3 separate regions of the Homo sapiens genome follow, and regions 1 and 3 are each linked to region 2. The links are contacts of gene promoters, found by promoter capture Hi-C in human tissues and cell types (Jung and others, 2019). All regions are on one chromosome and are shown on one strand. Each heading gives the region's core, a stretch centred on a gene start or on the middle of the fragment in contact. The rest is flanking DNA. Distances are from core to core; before and after follow the strand shown. Region 1 holds the start of SMUG1-AS1 (SMUG1 antisense RNA 1). Region 2 holds the start of HOXC4 (homeobox C4). Region 3 overlaps FLJ12825 (a long non-coding RNA gene).

Evidence for each region. Contacts are between HindIII fragments. The study calls those that stand out against the background at their distance.
Region 1: a contact is called between a fragment that was not itself captured here and the fragment with the promoter of HOXC4 in region 2, in 3 of the 25 tissues and cell types used here (H1 embryonic stem cells, aorta and liver).
Region 3: a contact is called between a fragment that was not itself captured here and the fragment with the promoter of HOXC4 in region 2, in 3 of the 25 tissues and cell types used here (H1 embryonic stem cells, bladder and neural progenitor cells).

Annotation. Positions count from the first base shown.
Region 1 is chr12:54,141,361-54,146,397 of GRCh38, forward strand. It overlaps SMUG1-AS1 (SMUG1 antisense RNA 1), which reads left to right and starts at 1,242. Exons shown (of 2, transcript XR_007063322.1): 1 at 1,242-1,461. The HindIII fragment of the contact is 5,217 bases long and covers 16-5,037 here.
Region 2 is chr12:54,052,117-54,057,077 of GRCh38, forward strand. It overlaps HOXC4 (homeobox C4), which reads left to right and starts at 1,719. Exons shown (of 2, transcript NM_153633.3): 1 at 1,719-2,245; 2 at 2,734-3,914. The coding sequence starts at 1,807. The coding sequence ends at 3,089. RefSeq lists enhancers at 1-496, 497-1,478, 774-933 and a cis regulatory region at 1,510-2,010. The HindIII fragment of the contact is 12,403 bases long and covers 1-4,961 here.
Region 3 is chr12:54,117,795-54,122,300 of GRCh38, forward strand. FLJ12825 (a long non-coding RNA gene) reads left to right here. Exons shown (of 2, transcript NR_026655.1): 2 at 810-4,440. FAM242C (family with sequence similarity 242 member C) reads right to left here. Exons shown (of 3, transcript NR_170197.1): 3 at 3,483-3,653. Among named protein-coding and RNA genes, the nearest start is that of LINC02381, 6.0 kb to the right of the region's middle. The HindIII fragment of the contact is 9,358 bases long and covers 1-4,506 here.

The DNA.
Region 1 (5,037 bases), core at 1,374-3,873, 90 kb after region 2:
CTGCCTGGATTAGCTGGGGGTAAGATCAGGTCACACACACTCTATCCCGCTGGGGGCAATCAGGCCCAACCACACTCGGGGACATCTGTCTCCAGCAAATAGGGGGCAATCCCAAATTTGAGGGGTTCTGTGACACTTAAAAGCTTCAAGCAGGAAGTTCTGCAATTTCTCTTGGACCAGGGCCTGCGGGGAGGGTCGCTCAGAAACCCTCGTTTGATGTTGCGCTTTCATGGCTGTGGTTTGATCCAGATGTTCCCCAATTGTGGGATTTTATTTTTGGGAGGGAGGGGCCCTTGGCTATAAAGGCATTTCCATCATGTGCACATTTGGATCTGGGCCTGCTGGGCGGGGGTGCTCTTCCAGCTCTCACTAACCCCACCCTTCCCCCTAGGATCATATCCTTTCCCTTCACATCCAGAGAAGAGAAGAGGATCCATAAGGGGGCATTCCCAGCTCCTTGATGGTTTGCTGTGTGACTGTCCAAAAATGTCTCTACATCTCTGTTTTTCTGGCACCATAAGCTGAAGTTGGTTCCTAAAGATGGTTCCCAGGTCATGGGAGGAATAGGACAGGGAATTCCAGAACCAAATTTCTGTCTAAGAAAGAAACAATTATCTAAGAAATTGTGAGTGGAATTGGACTGAACGTGGATGAGTCAGGGCTCTTGAAAAAGAAAGTGGCCGTCCCTCTTTGAGTCAGTTCTGCAAGAGTGGACAGAAACTTTTCCAGACTCCCAGGCCTCTCTGCTCCCTCAGAGCTTGAAAAGATTAAAGTCATTCCTCCTCAAGGTCTTCAGTGAAACCCTGGAAATCTTTCCTTCAATTTTAAGAGATTACAGTTCTTCCCATTGTCTAGCCTCTGTCACTACTTGCTGTAGCATGAGGTGGCTTCCCTGGGGGAAAGTGTACCAGTCCCGCTCATTGGTCGTCTAAGACCTCCCAGCATTCCTCAAGACATTTCTGCCTCATGATGTCAGAAGAAGGGCTGTCAAATAGATTTTAAAACCCCAGGCTCGGCCAGGCACAGTGGCTCACGCTTGTAATCCCAGCACTTTGCGGGAATCACGAGAGCAGAAGATCGAGACCATCCTGGCTAACACGATGAAACCCCATCTCTAATAAAAATACAAAAAATTAACTGGGCATCCTGGCAGACGCCTGTAGTCCCAGCTACTCGGGAGGCTGTGGCAGGAGAATGGCGTGAACCCGGGGAGGCAGAGCTTGCGGTGAGCAGAGATCACACAACTGCACTCCAGCCTGGGCAACAGAGCGAGACTCCATCTCAAAAAAAAAAAAAAAAGACTTGGCTCCTCACTTGTATTGTGGGAATCCCAGCCTAAATTGGACATGTGGATGTTGAGCAATAGAGGACAGACAAACAAAGGAATCTCCAGACCCTGCAGGACCCAAGGCAGCAGCCCACGAGTGGATCCTAAAGGATTTTCATCAGCTGCAAGTCTGGGTAAGTGGGCTTTTTTTGGGGGGAGGGGAGAAGCAGCCTGGGATGCTTCTTGCAGGAAGAGGAGTTTCAGAGGAGACAAGAGAGGTTAGGAGCCACTGAGTGGGTGAGGAGGGCCTAGCCCAAGAGGCTGGGGACAACCACGAGAGGCGGGCCAATGGGAGAAGAGGGCACTGTTCCTCAGCGGACTAGGTAGAAGGAGGGGTTGGAGAGAGGTGGGTGCAAGGAAGGAAGAAGGAGGATGGGGAGCTCCCCGTGGCTGCCCCACCTGAAGAATTTGAGCAGCTGTTCCCAGCTCCCCCTTGCTCTGTGTAACATCAAGCAAATGCACGGTGGGGGATCAGCTTTTCCTCTGAAGACCTCAGGGCCAGTTCTCAGGCCTCCCCCTCCCTATGGACTTTAATCCAGTCCAGCACAGATGGATCAGGTCATGATGGTGATGGGGGTGGTAGCATTGGGTCTCCCTGGCTTGAATTTTTTCTTATTCCCCCATGTCCTCTCCTCCTTAGGTGATAATTTATCCTTTCGCATGGTCTTACATACTTCACATGTCTATAGCTCAGAGAACTAAGAAGCACCTCATCATTCTTAAGTTGGGCCTTGCTACCTGCAGGCCCCTCCCCTCCCACACTTACCTTCACACGACTGGGGCAAGTGGTTAGCTTCCCCACGGCCCCCCCAGCCCCTCTCCTCTCCAAGACACCCTTCTTATCTTTCTGACTACAATTAGAGCCTCCTCTCCCTGTAGGGGAGTGAGAGGGACAAGGTCAAGGATCCTCACAACTCAATAACAGCTGTAGAGCCTCACCTATCCTGTGTACTCACAGTGACTCCATGCAGGGGACCAGCAACAAGGGGAAAGGGAGTGGGAGTTAGTGTGGGGACAGGGGAGAAGCATGCATCGGGATTCCCTGCCTGGTCTAGTCTGGTCTGGGAGCAGGGCAGATGCTCAACAAGGCATCCCAGGTCTCGGGGAGCGGCTGGCAGTGGTGAAACACCAGCTCTCTCAGGGCACGTGAAAGTTCATGTTTCCCCTCCCTCTCCTCTCTCCCTCCCACTCTTCATGACTGGATCCAGGGAAGGACACACCTGTCACAAGTACTGCCCTCATCTCTCCCTGTAACTCCACCTCCACCCCCCATACCCACTTTATCCCTCTGCAGGGTTACTAGAGCCTGACCAAAATTCTCTACTGACCAGAGACAGACAGACAGACCTGTTCCCTGTTCCCCAACTTCCAGTGGTGCTGCGCATGGAGACGCTGAGGTGGGACCCAAAGACCTGCTCCCGTCTTCTCTCCTTAGGGACTTGCAGAAGCCCCTTTCTCAGAGTCACCCCTCCCAGGATGAGGTGAAGAGGCTGAAAAGGGAAGGGCCATAATGCTAAGGCTGGGGCAGGGGACAGCGGCGCCCTCCATGCACTCTCCTGATTAGTGCAGGTAAACATAAGGGTTTCCCCCAAATGCGAGGGTTCTGCTTCAGTGCCATGGAAGGCCCCACCAGCACCTGCTGCCCCTCCTGTTCGTCCTCCCTCTCTTCAGCCCCACAATTACCGAGAGCGAGTTGTTGAGGCAAGCTCTACCCCAGGCCTGCGTTAAGAAATTTGGGTGGGATAGGCCGGGCGTGGTGGCTCACGCCTGTAATCCCAGCACTTTGGGAGGCCGAGGAGGGTGGATCACGAGGTCAGGAGATCGAGACCATCCTGGCTAACATGGTGAAACCCCATCTTTACCAAAAATACAAAAAATAAGCCGGGCGTTGTGGTGAGCGCCTGTAGTCCCAGCTACTCGGGAGGCTGAGGCAGGAGAATGGAGTGAACCCTGGAGGTGGAGGTTGCAGTGAATCGAGATCGCACCACTGCACTCCAGCCTGGGCGACAGATCGAGACTCTGTCTCAAAAAAAAAAAAAAAAAAAAAGAAATTTGAGTGGGAGAATAGAGGTAAGAGACATTTCCTTAGTGTTTACTGCAAACCCTGCCAGGCTAGAGGTGCCATAATCTGCCCTGTATCAGATCCACAGAGTCATCCCACCAAAACCCCCCCCAGGATGTATGTGAGACCACTGGACTCATTGGCACTGGCAAATAAGAAGATGGCCAGAAAGCAATCAACACCGAACGCCCACTGCGTGCTTGGCACTGGGCCAGACTCTGCTGGGGGAGACTGGAGGAAAGGCCCATTTCACTGGTCTTGAGCTCTACATACCATGTTAAGCCAGAGAGGTACATATTACAAATACTGGAGACTCTCATGCTTGAGTATAATCCTATAATCTTATACCCACTCCCATTCAGACGTGTGGTCATATGTGAATGTCAAGCACACAAGCTAGACAGAAGAAAGAACTTCCCTAGGTTGTCAGTACTGTAGAGTAAAATCATCAGACTCGAAGCCCTCATTCTCGGAAGGTGATGAACTGGGAGAGCCCCCGCCTTGCTGGGCCAGGGGTAAAATAAGGCTCCTGTCTGAAGGCAGGGGGATGGTTGAGATGACCCCTCAAGATGCTACCCAGGAAAAGGCAGAGAGGTAAAGTTTCCAGTAGAGGGGCATGAGAAGGAGGGACAGACAGATGGATGGAGGGATGGAGGAGTGCAGGGAGCAGTGCTGGAGAGATGAATGGTCTTGGCTGGACTGATGGGCGAGGCCAAGATGGATGGATGGCAGCTGAGGTTTGTTTACTGGCAGCCCCCAGCCCGCCATCGCCCAGGGGAGAGGAATGGTGGCTGGCACATCAGAGGGCTCTTAGGGAAGCTCATGGAGATGATTTAGATGGGAATGAATCAGCTCCATATGGATTAAGTGTCCCCGCAAATCCCAGATCTTACAGATGAGGGGATGGGGCAAGGGCACTGAGGGGAGGGGAGAGAGTGGGGAAGCAGCGTGGAGCTGGTGCAGGGAAACACGGTCCTGAAGCCAGGGGAAGGGCACCCTCAGAGGGCATGGGGCAGGTCAGCCTGGCACAGATGCAACCCCTGCCTTGGTCTGTTGATACCACTGTTCCTCTTGCTTGGTACCAAGCTTTAGGAAAAGGCCTCCTTCTCCACACCAAACCAACTGTTGGAGTGTCCTTTCTGAGTCCGTTTTGGTCTGTCTCCTCTTGCCTCTGTCTCTTGTTCTCTCTACATCTTCATCTGTCTTTCATCTTCATTTTTCTGTCCCTCTCACTACCTAGCCTTCTCTGTGTTTCTGTCTCTCTCCTTCCACATTCCCCCGCTTTCCACACTCCCACACTTTCCATCTCTTTCTCTAGAGGTATAAATGGTAGAGGGATGCTGCCAGTTTCTCTGAACGTCAGCCTTAGCTCTGCCCTCCTCTCCTGGGGTCAGGTCTGATGCCTCCCTCCCTCTGTACTGTTCTCTCACACAGACCACAAGTTTGGAGGTGGTCAACAGAACAGGGAAGGTGGTCAGAAAAGTGACTTTTTGGCTACAGAAAGTTATTTGTGTTCCTCTCTGCCACCCTGCCCTCGTGCCTTCAGCTGTCCCTTCTCCCAGTGCCAGAGGAGGCTTGGATTGAGCACCCATGCTCTATGGACAACAGCAAGTTGAGCAGACCTTAACATCATTCCCGGGGAGGCAAC
Region 2 (4,961 bases), core at 469-2,968:
ATTGACTAATCACGGCGGCGATCATAATAATAAAATCAGAGGGAAAAAAAATCACATTACGACTTTTCGTGGAAAGGAGGGAGCAGGCAGCCAGCGGCCGCCAGCCCTGCGCCGCCGCCGACACAAAGAGTGCGGGCGATTCCGCGAGACTGATTTATGACGTTTTACAGCCCTATAAAAGCTGTAGCGACGAGGCAAGCGCTCCTACCACCGCTGGCAGATTTAGTCTAATAAATAAAACATAAACAGTTAACTTTATGTGTCACTTTTATTGTTATCAAGTAAAATATAGCTGAGCCCTGGCAAGCTATGATTTTAAACTATAATTGTTATCAAGTACAACAAGGGGACCCGGCTCCCTCCCTGGGCTCTCCCCTCCGCTACCCCCCGCAACTCTGAGTTATGGGCGATCAGTTAATTGGAATCGGTGGCATGACAGGACCACCCCTAGCTGGGGGGGGGGGGTGGTGGTTAGGAAAGCAGCTTTTCCTGGCCCCCTCCCTCCTCTACGGCCCTGTCACCCCCCTCCATCAGAGTATTACTGTGAGTGGGTGGCAGAGAGAGAGCAGGGGGTGTGAATGGGCTGGAGACCCCAAAGGCTGGCCGTGCCTCCCCAACTTGGTGAGCTTAGCCTTCCGTTTTTGGAAAGCAGCCTGGAGCTGGCCTTTAGGAATTCGTGTTTACATGTAAACACACGTGTTACATGGATACAGCTCCTAGCCAGAAGCAAGCAGGCTCTACCCACACAGGCCTCCCTCTTAGCTAGGTCTGCCCTCTGTGGGGACAGAGAAAGAACTCTCAGGATCTTGGCTGGGCACCATCACAGGGCACTGACTCCTGGCAGAAAGCTCTCCTCCTTGCCCCAGCTCCTTGGAGATAATTGTCAGAAAATAGCAGGCCGGGCTGAATGGGGAGTGGAAACAGAAGCCAGCAGTAGAAGAGATCCTCTGCTCTGGGGCTGGGGCAGGGAGGGTCAGTGGGTAGCAGGGGAAGGCGAGACTTCTGAACTCTGCTTTTGCCAACCACTTCCTGTCTCTCTTCAGCGGGGGCTCAACCCCCAGACCTCCAGAAATGACGTCAGAATCATTTGCATCCCGCTGCCTCTACCTGCCTGGTCCAGCTGGGACCCTGCCTCGCCGGCCGCATGGCCAGAGGGTTGGGTGAGTGTGTATGGGGAAGAGGGGCTGGACTCTGGTATCCTTGGATGGGGGGCACTCCAGGCTCTCCAGCCTCCTCGGCTCAGCCTGGGCCCCTCCCCATCCAACATCCACTCCAGTCCTCATTCAACTTCCTCTTCCTGCGAAAGAGGGGCGCTGCCCCGTGACCTACACAGACTGAGACACGATCGCCATGAATGGAGACCTCTGGAAAAGCTCAGGAGCCGAGGCCCACGGGGCCCAGCAGAGGCCTGAGGGGAGACCCTGGGCGGGGGCTGAATCACTGCCTCCCGACAGTCCCCCAATGCCCGGGCTTTGGAGGGGAGCCGGGAGCTTCCCATCTCCTTTTGCAGGGGAGGGTTGTCAGTCTGGCGGGATGTGCACTGGGGGCACTCCAACCTCTGCTAGCTAACCCCACATCACCACCCACCCCCGCCTCCCAGCACCACCACCACCACACACACAAAAAAATTGGATACATTTTGAATAAAGCGATTCGGTTCCTTATCCGGGGACTGGGTTGCTCCGTGTGATTGGCCGGAGGAGTCACATGGTGAAAGTAACTTTACAGGGTCGCTAGCTAGTAGGAGGGCTTTATGGAGCAGAAAAACGACAAAGCGAGAAAAATTATTTTCCACTCCAGAAATTAATGATCATGAGCTCGTATTTGATGGACTCTAACTACATCGATCCGAAATTTCCTCCATGCGAAGAATATTCGCAAAATAGCTACATCCCTGAACACAGTCCGGAATATTACGGCCGGACCAGGGAATCGGGATTCCAGCATCACCACCAGGAGCTGTACCCACCACCGCCTCCGCGCCCTAGCTACCCTGAGCGCCAGTATAGCTGCACCAGTCTCCAGGGGCCCGGCAATTCGCGAGGCCACGGGCCGGCCCAGGCGGGCCACCACCACCCCGAGAAATCACAGTCGCTCTGCGAGCCGGCGCCTCTCTCAGGCGCCTCCGCCTCCCCGTCCCCAGCCCCGCCAGCCTGCAGCCAGCCAGCCCCCGACCATCCCTCCAGCGCCGCCAGCAAGCAACCCATAGTCTACCCATGGATGAAAAAAATTCACGTTAGCACGGGTAGGCAACTTTGCTTTTTGCTCCCCCCCTCCCTCCCTTCTTCCCTAGCGCTCCCCACCCTCCTCGGCCCCCTCTGGCCCCCGTCCTCCTTTCTCTCCTTCCCCCTCTCTCTCCAGGAGCGACTCTGGGTTAGCACAATTGAACTGGATTTACGAGCGAGAATGGGTAATTACATCCCCCATAAATTTTATGGCTTAGCTACTCTGGGCAGTCCGAGCCATGTGCTACGATCTGTTATGTATGTGTGAAAACTATGCTCGCTTTCTAAGGGCGCATAAATAATTCAGTGTCGTTACAATGAGGATTCCCCTCTTATTACACTACAAAGTCTTCAGCTTCCTTCAACTTCTTTATAACCCATTTAAGCTTGATGACTTTATTTCCACCACTCCCTCCTCCTGTTTCTCAGAGCTGAGGATGGGGTGAGGGTGGGGGGCGGGGAGCCTGCTGCCTCTGAACCCCACTATTTGCTTTTCCCCTCCCCCCAGTGAACCCCAATTATAACGGAGGGGAACCCAAGCGCTCGAGGACAGCCTATACCCGGCAGCAAGTCCTGGAATTAGAGAAAGAGTTTCATTACAACCGCTACCTGACCCGAAGGAGAAGGATCGAGATCGCCCACTCGCTGTGCCTCTCTGAGAGGCAGATCAAAATCTGGTTCCAAAACCGTCGCATGAAATGGAAGAAGGACCACCGACTCCCCAACACCAAAGTCAGGTCAGCACCCCCGGCCGGCGCTGCGCCCAGCACCCTTTCGGCAGCTACCCCGGGTACTTCTGAAGACCACTCCCAGAGCGCCACGCCGCCGGAGCAGCAACGGGCAGAGGACATTACCAGGTTATAAAACATAACTCACACCCCTGCCCCCACCCCATGCCCCCACCCTCCCCTCACACACAAATTGACTCTTATTTATAGAATTTAATATATATATATATATATATATATATAGGTTCTTTTCTCTCTTCCTCTCACCTTGTCCCTTGTCAGTTCCAAACAGACAAAACAGATAAACAAACAAGCCCCCTGCCCTCCTCTCCCTCCCACTGTTAAGGACCCTTTTAAGCATGTGATGTTGTCTTAGCATGGTACCTGCTGGGTGTTTTTTTTTAAAAGGCCATTTTGGGGGGTTATTTATTTTTTAAGAAAAAAAGCTGCAAAAATTATATATTGCAAGGTGTGATGGTCTGGCTTGGGTGAATTTCAGGGGAAATGAGGAAAAGAAAAAAGGAAAGAAATTTTAAAGCCAATTCTCATCCTTCTCCTCCTCCTCCTTCCCCCCCTCTTTCCTTAGGCCTTTTGCATTGAAAATGCACCAGGGGAGGTTAGTGAGGGGGAAGTCATTTTAAGGAGAACAAAGCTATGAAGTTCTTTTGTATTATTGTTGGGGGGGGGTGTGGGAGGAGAGGGGGCGAAGACAGCAGACAAAGCTAAATGCATCTGGAGAGCCTCTCAGAGCTGTTCAGTTTGAGGAGCCAAAAGAAAATCAAAATGAACTTTCAGTTCAGAGAGGCAGTCTATAGGTAGAATCTCTCCCCACCCCTATCGTGGTTATTGTGTTTTTGGACTGAATTTACTTGATTATTGTAAAACTTGCAATAAAGAATTTTAGTGTCGATGTGAAATGCCCCGTGATCAATAATAAACCAGTGGATGTGAATTAGTTTTACGTCAATGTCTGATGGTTTCTTTTTATTCCCCTCCCTCTCTGGCCTGGTAACATCCCATCTTCTCTATAGTTGCCTAAGTTTACTTTAAACAAACACACAAATCTTAGCTCTCCATTAGTCTTCCAATGTCCTTAGAAGAACAAGCAAGGGGGTTGGGGTATGGGATCTTCAGAAGAGGGGATGTGGAAGATTAAGGCTGATTTCTCCAGTCCCCTTCCTTCCCCCTGAGTCTGCAGAGAGACCAGACTCCTCTGGGGGCACTTCAGTGGAGCTGAGGGTGGGGAGTGTCTCACTTTTCTATAGTTAGGTACAGTTTCTTCTTTTTGTCTTTTCTCTCTCTTCCCTTCTCCCTCCTCTGTGCTGAGTAGGCCTGCCTACTTTGTAGACAAGGGGGCAAGTTTAGGGAGTGGGAAGGAGAATAGTTTTCTTTCATCTTTTAGGGCTCTTTTGGGATGAGGGATTAAGGAAGACATCCCCTCAACATTTGAGTTCTTAAAAGAAGGAAGGTTTTGAGCTGGTGACTCTGAAGCAGCAAAGTCACCTGTCAGGATGCCTTCTCTGTTTGTTTAGGCTTGGAAAAAAGACTGGCCAGAGGCCTGGGAGGTACCCTTGTTATGGATAGGCCTCAAAGGCTGATGCCTGGAGATAATAAAAGACTTTTACCTTTTTATTCTCTAACTTTTATTATGGACCTGCCAGGTGTTGCGAAGAGACTTAGGGAGAGTCAAGGACCACCCTCTCTTCCTATAACCTCCCAGGTCCTGGCAGCGTATGGGGATAGCCTGAACAAGTTTCTCTGGCTGTAAAGAAATAAATTAATTAAATAAATTTGTTTCCTTGGGGCTAAAAAAGAAACAAAAAATCTTGCCTGGATTACCTGAATACATTCAAGCCAAAGGCTCCCAAATAATTCTGGTCCTGAGATCCAGGCCCTAGCAAGGCCTGCTTAATTTTTTGCTTGTTTGTTAGGAGAAGGTGGGAGGAGGGCTGTTGGTGACCTTCTTCTCGGACGATTTATCCATATTTCAGGAAGAAAGGCAATTAGA
Region 3 (4,506 bases), core at 1,097-3,596, 66 kb after region 2:
ACATACATGGCCGGGCGCAGTGGCTCACGCCTGTGGTCCCAGCACTTTGGGAGGTCAGGGCAGGCGGATCACAAGGTCAAGAGTTTGGGACCAGCCTGGCCAACATGGCGAAACCCCGTCTCTACTAAAAATACAAAAATTAGCCAGGCATGGTGGCGGGCACCTGTAATCCCAGCTACTCAGGAGGCTGAGGCAGGAAAATCACTTGAAGCCTGGAGGTGGAAGTTGAATTGAGCTGAAATCATGCCATTGCACTCCAGCCTGGGCAACAAGAGCAAAACTCGGTCCCAAAAACAAACAAACAACAACAAAAAAAAACCCAGAAAACAAAAAACAACAACCAAAAAAACCCATACACACATACTTATCCCAGTGTCCAGAGCAAATGTTCTGCCACTTACTGCTATGGGTGTGATTTCAGACAGCTATTTAAACCTGAGTTTCAGTTTTTCTCATCTTCAAAATGGAAATATTGATGCCTAATTCAAAGGGTGAAAATTAGTGAACTATAGAAACCCCTTGGTGTATGTCTGGTCCAACAAATGGTAGCTCTTATTAGCTAACATTTTGTAATATCTGCCCACTCTCTCCTCCAAGGGATGGAGAAGTAATGCTGAGTTCCAGACTAGGAAAGGTAGTGGTAGCAGAAAGTGATTTACAACTCTGACTTTTTTCACATTTTCTTTCCAGAGCACATAGTAAGTTCTTGTTGGTTCATTCATTCATTGAACAGTGTTTACAAGTTTGAACAAGCTTGAACAACTTGCCATCATTTTGTTCACTTGTATTCATCTTACTCTCACCACTAGAACTGCAAGGTCCATGAGGGCAGAGGCAGTGTCTGTTGCTGGGTGAGTGACTGGATTGAGCTCAAAGCATGTCTGAAGACTGAAATGGGCCAGGCAAGGAGATGGAAACTGGAGGCCTGGATTCTGGCTCGGTCATACCTCCAAGAACGTAACTTTCCCTCGACCCTGGGGAGTCTTCACAGACCTTCCTTCTGCTGTGAGGCACTGGAGAATCACTTGAGACCAGACTCAGGAAACTCTTCCCTGATGGGAAGACATTCATTCATCCACTCCACATCTCTGAAGCCCCAAGAGAAGGATCTGAATCCCCTAGTCTGAAGAGTCAGCAAGTGTCCAACATAGCAATCTTGATAAAAAGGGAGAATTGATAAAGGAGGGAGCAGCCCCACCTCAGTAACAAGAGGGAGGAAAATTCCAGCTAGTACATGTACTTAACATGAAAGCAGACATGTGCCAAGACCCTGCTTTCATGGATATTAGGTGTTCCCAAATATAAGAAACACCCATTCTTGCCCACAGGCCTCACTGGATACTATCCAAGATGTCTAGAGAATAAGAGGAAAGAGAGAATCATAATATCCAAAAGGTGGAAACAACCCAAATGTTCACCAATAGGTGAACGGATAAACAAAGTGTGATATATCCATACAATGGAATATTAGTCAGCCCTGAAAAGGAATGAAGTACTGATAAATGCTACAACATGGATGAACTTTGAAAACACTATGCTCAATGAAAGAAGCTAGTCACAGAAGGTCTCTTATTATATGATGCCATTCATATGAAAGTCCAGAATAGGGAAATCTACAGAGACTGAAAGTACATTAGTGTTGTTAAGGGCAAGAAGGAATATGGGGGGATAGGGAGGTGATAGCTAAAGGTTACAAGATTTCTTTTTGAGGTGATGAAAATGTTCTAAAATTAACTATGGTGATGGTTCGACATACTTGTGAATATACTAAAACCATTGAATTGTACATTTCAAATGGTGAATTGTATGACACATGAATTATACCTCAAGAAAGTTGCTTTTTAAAAAGACAGCGTAAGGGGTGGGGGGCAGTTGAGATGAAGCAGGAAAACTGTGATCAGAAGCAAAGCTCAGGGGCTGTCTGGCCTGGCTGCCCCAAGTCAAAGCCTGCATTTCATACAGGCAATGTTAGGGTAGCCCCCAAGCCATGATTCGGAAAGATAAATTGACCCCAGATGGAATAGGGCTGGGTCCCTTCTCCCTTGACAGCTCCCTTTCTGTGTTTTTTCTGGCACAAGAAACTCTGTCATCTTGTATAAATAGGAGAAATTTATGGCAGTTTTCCCTCTTCTTCTCCCTGGTGGGCTACTAGGAAAGGTCTAGGGGGAGGAGGGAGCCTGAAATTCCAAAAATATAAATGTGGAAAGACTGGAGGGGGTCGAGGAGTCTCTTTGCCTGCCTTAGCTCTGGCCCCAGCTCTCCTTTCCCTTTGCATGTTTGACCATCTGGGTGATGAGGAGGGTAGAGAACTGGTGCAGCCCGTCCTCTCTGCAAGCCCAAAAGAGATGGGTCCCAAAGCAGATATCCGACAGGAGGGGCACAAGGGAAATCAAGGAAATAGGCTTGGCTGTCCCATGAAATAATTGGAGGAGACACAGACCACTGCCCTCCTTCCTGGATTTGGCTATTTTTGTACTTCCCTGTTTGTTGAGGCAGCCTGATACAGCGGGAAGAGAACTCGTCCTCGATTTAGAAAGATTGACAGAGAAACTAAGTGTGTGACCTTAAGCAAGTCATATCTTGTCTCCGGGCCTCACCTGTAAAAAGAGGGAGGGGACTGAATTTATCAGGGGTTTTCAAATGATTTTAACTCTGGGGTCCTTCCTTCAAATAAAACCGTATGCAGTGACCCAACATGAACATGAGTAGTAGGCTGCTGAGCTTCTTGAAGGTAGGAATGGGAGTCTCAGGGCCCTGTGGTGACTGGCGAGAGGCTTGTCCAAGCACAAGATGATCTCCATGGCTTTTCCAGCCCCGTCCTCAGGAGGGATTTGCCCCCATGGTGAAGAGGCTCAGTTCTGCACACCCAGTGGGCTTGAAATCCAGCTCCACCCCCTCCTGTGTGTCCCTCAGCACATAACTTACCTTCCTTGAACCTGTTTCCTCGTGTGTAAATTGGAATAATAGTAACACATATCTCAGAGGATTGTCACATAGATTACACTAAATAATGTGCATAGAGTCCTTCGCATACTTATCTGGCCCAATAAATATTATTATAGTTATTCCGTGATCTGATGTAATCATTTTTTTATTTTGAGACAGAATCTCATTTTGTAGCCCAGACTGGTGCACAGTGGCATGATGTCAGTTCACTGCAACCTCCGCCTCCTGGGTTCAAGCAATTCTCCTGTCTCAGCCTCCCAAGTAGCTGGGATTACAGGAGTGTGCCACCGTGTCCAGCTAATTTTTGTATTTTTTAGTAGAGATGGGGTTTCACCATGTTGGCCAGACTGGTCTCGAACTCCTGGCCTCAAGTGATCTGCCTGCCTCAGCCCCACACAGTGCTGGGATTACAGGCGCAAGCCATTGCACCTGGCCCGATACAATCTTTTTAATTTGAAATATCTGGTGTGAGAAGGTGAATTAGAAAGGATGACAGCAAAACTGCTATAACACAAAGGCCCCAAAACACAGTAGCATATAGAAAACAGAAGTTTATTTCTCACTTAGTCTGGGAGGAAGCGGTTCCAGACAGCAGGCAGCTCTGTTCCTCCTAGTCAGTCAGGGACGTGTGTTCCTTTCATACCTTTGCTTTGTCTTCCCTTAGGGATGTCTTTTCAGTTGCCTGGTCAAACCTGTCTCAGGCACATCTGCCCAGCTCATGAAAGAGAGAACACAAAGGAGAATTTACCCAATGTCATCAGGCTTTGAGGACATGCTTGCCTCACATTCCCCTGTGTCTACACCTGGCAACAAGAGCAGCTGGGAAATGGAGTGTCCAGCTGGGTGTCTCTCTACCCTCGTGCAGCAAGGAAAGAAGAGATTTTAGTGGACAACGGGCAGTCTTAATCCAGGGCTCAAACCCACACCCGAGCTGTCCTCTTCCTCTTCTCTTCCCAAAGGAAGGGAAATAAAGTCTACAGCCCAGAAAACAATGTGACCACCCATCCCCTACCCCAATCAGGTCCCTGCCATTCATCCCAAGATCAGCAGTCTTGGGAAAGTGGCTTGGAAGCCTCCCTCCAGAAAGACCACCCTTTTGTCCATCTTCTTCACATGGGTGGATGTGAGAAAAGTTTCTCTCCCCACTGCCTGCCTGCCACTCCCTGTCTCAGTTTCAGCTCACGCTCTAGCCCTTTGTTCCCAGTCACCAAGAGTGACTACAAATGCGGGGGAACAGGAGGACCTGAAACTTCATGGAAATTGAGACTGGGACACAGAAGCCATGCTCAGAGGCAGCCTAGGTGAGGGTTCTGATGCCAGGAAATCCAGCTACTACTGTGTAGCCTAAAGCGGGGATTAAGCTCTCAGAACTTCAATGAACTCTTTTGGAAATAGGGGTAAGAAGCCCACTTGTCAGGGCTGTTGTGAACATCAAATGTGATCATGTATGTACCTAGTACATAGTATGCCTTCAATAAATGGTAAGGCAAACCCAAGGCAAATCGAATTCATGTCCATTACTCTGACCCAGCCTTTGCATAAATTCTTTTTTCTTCTCCT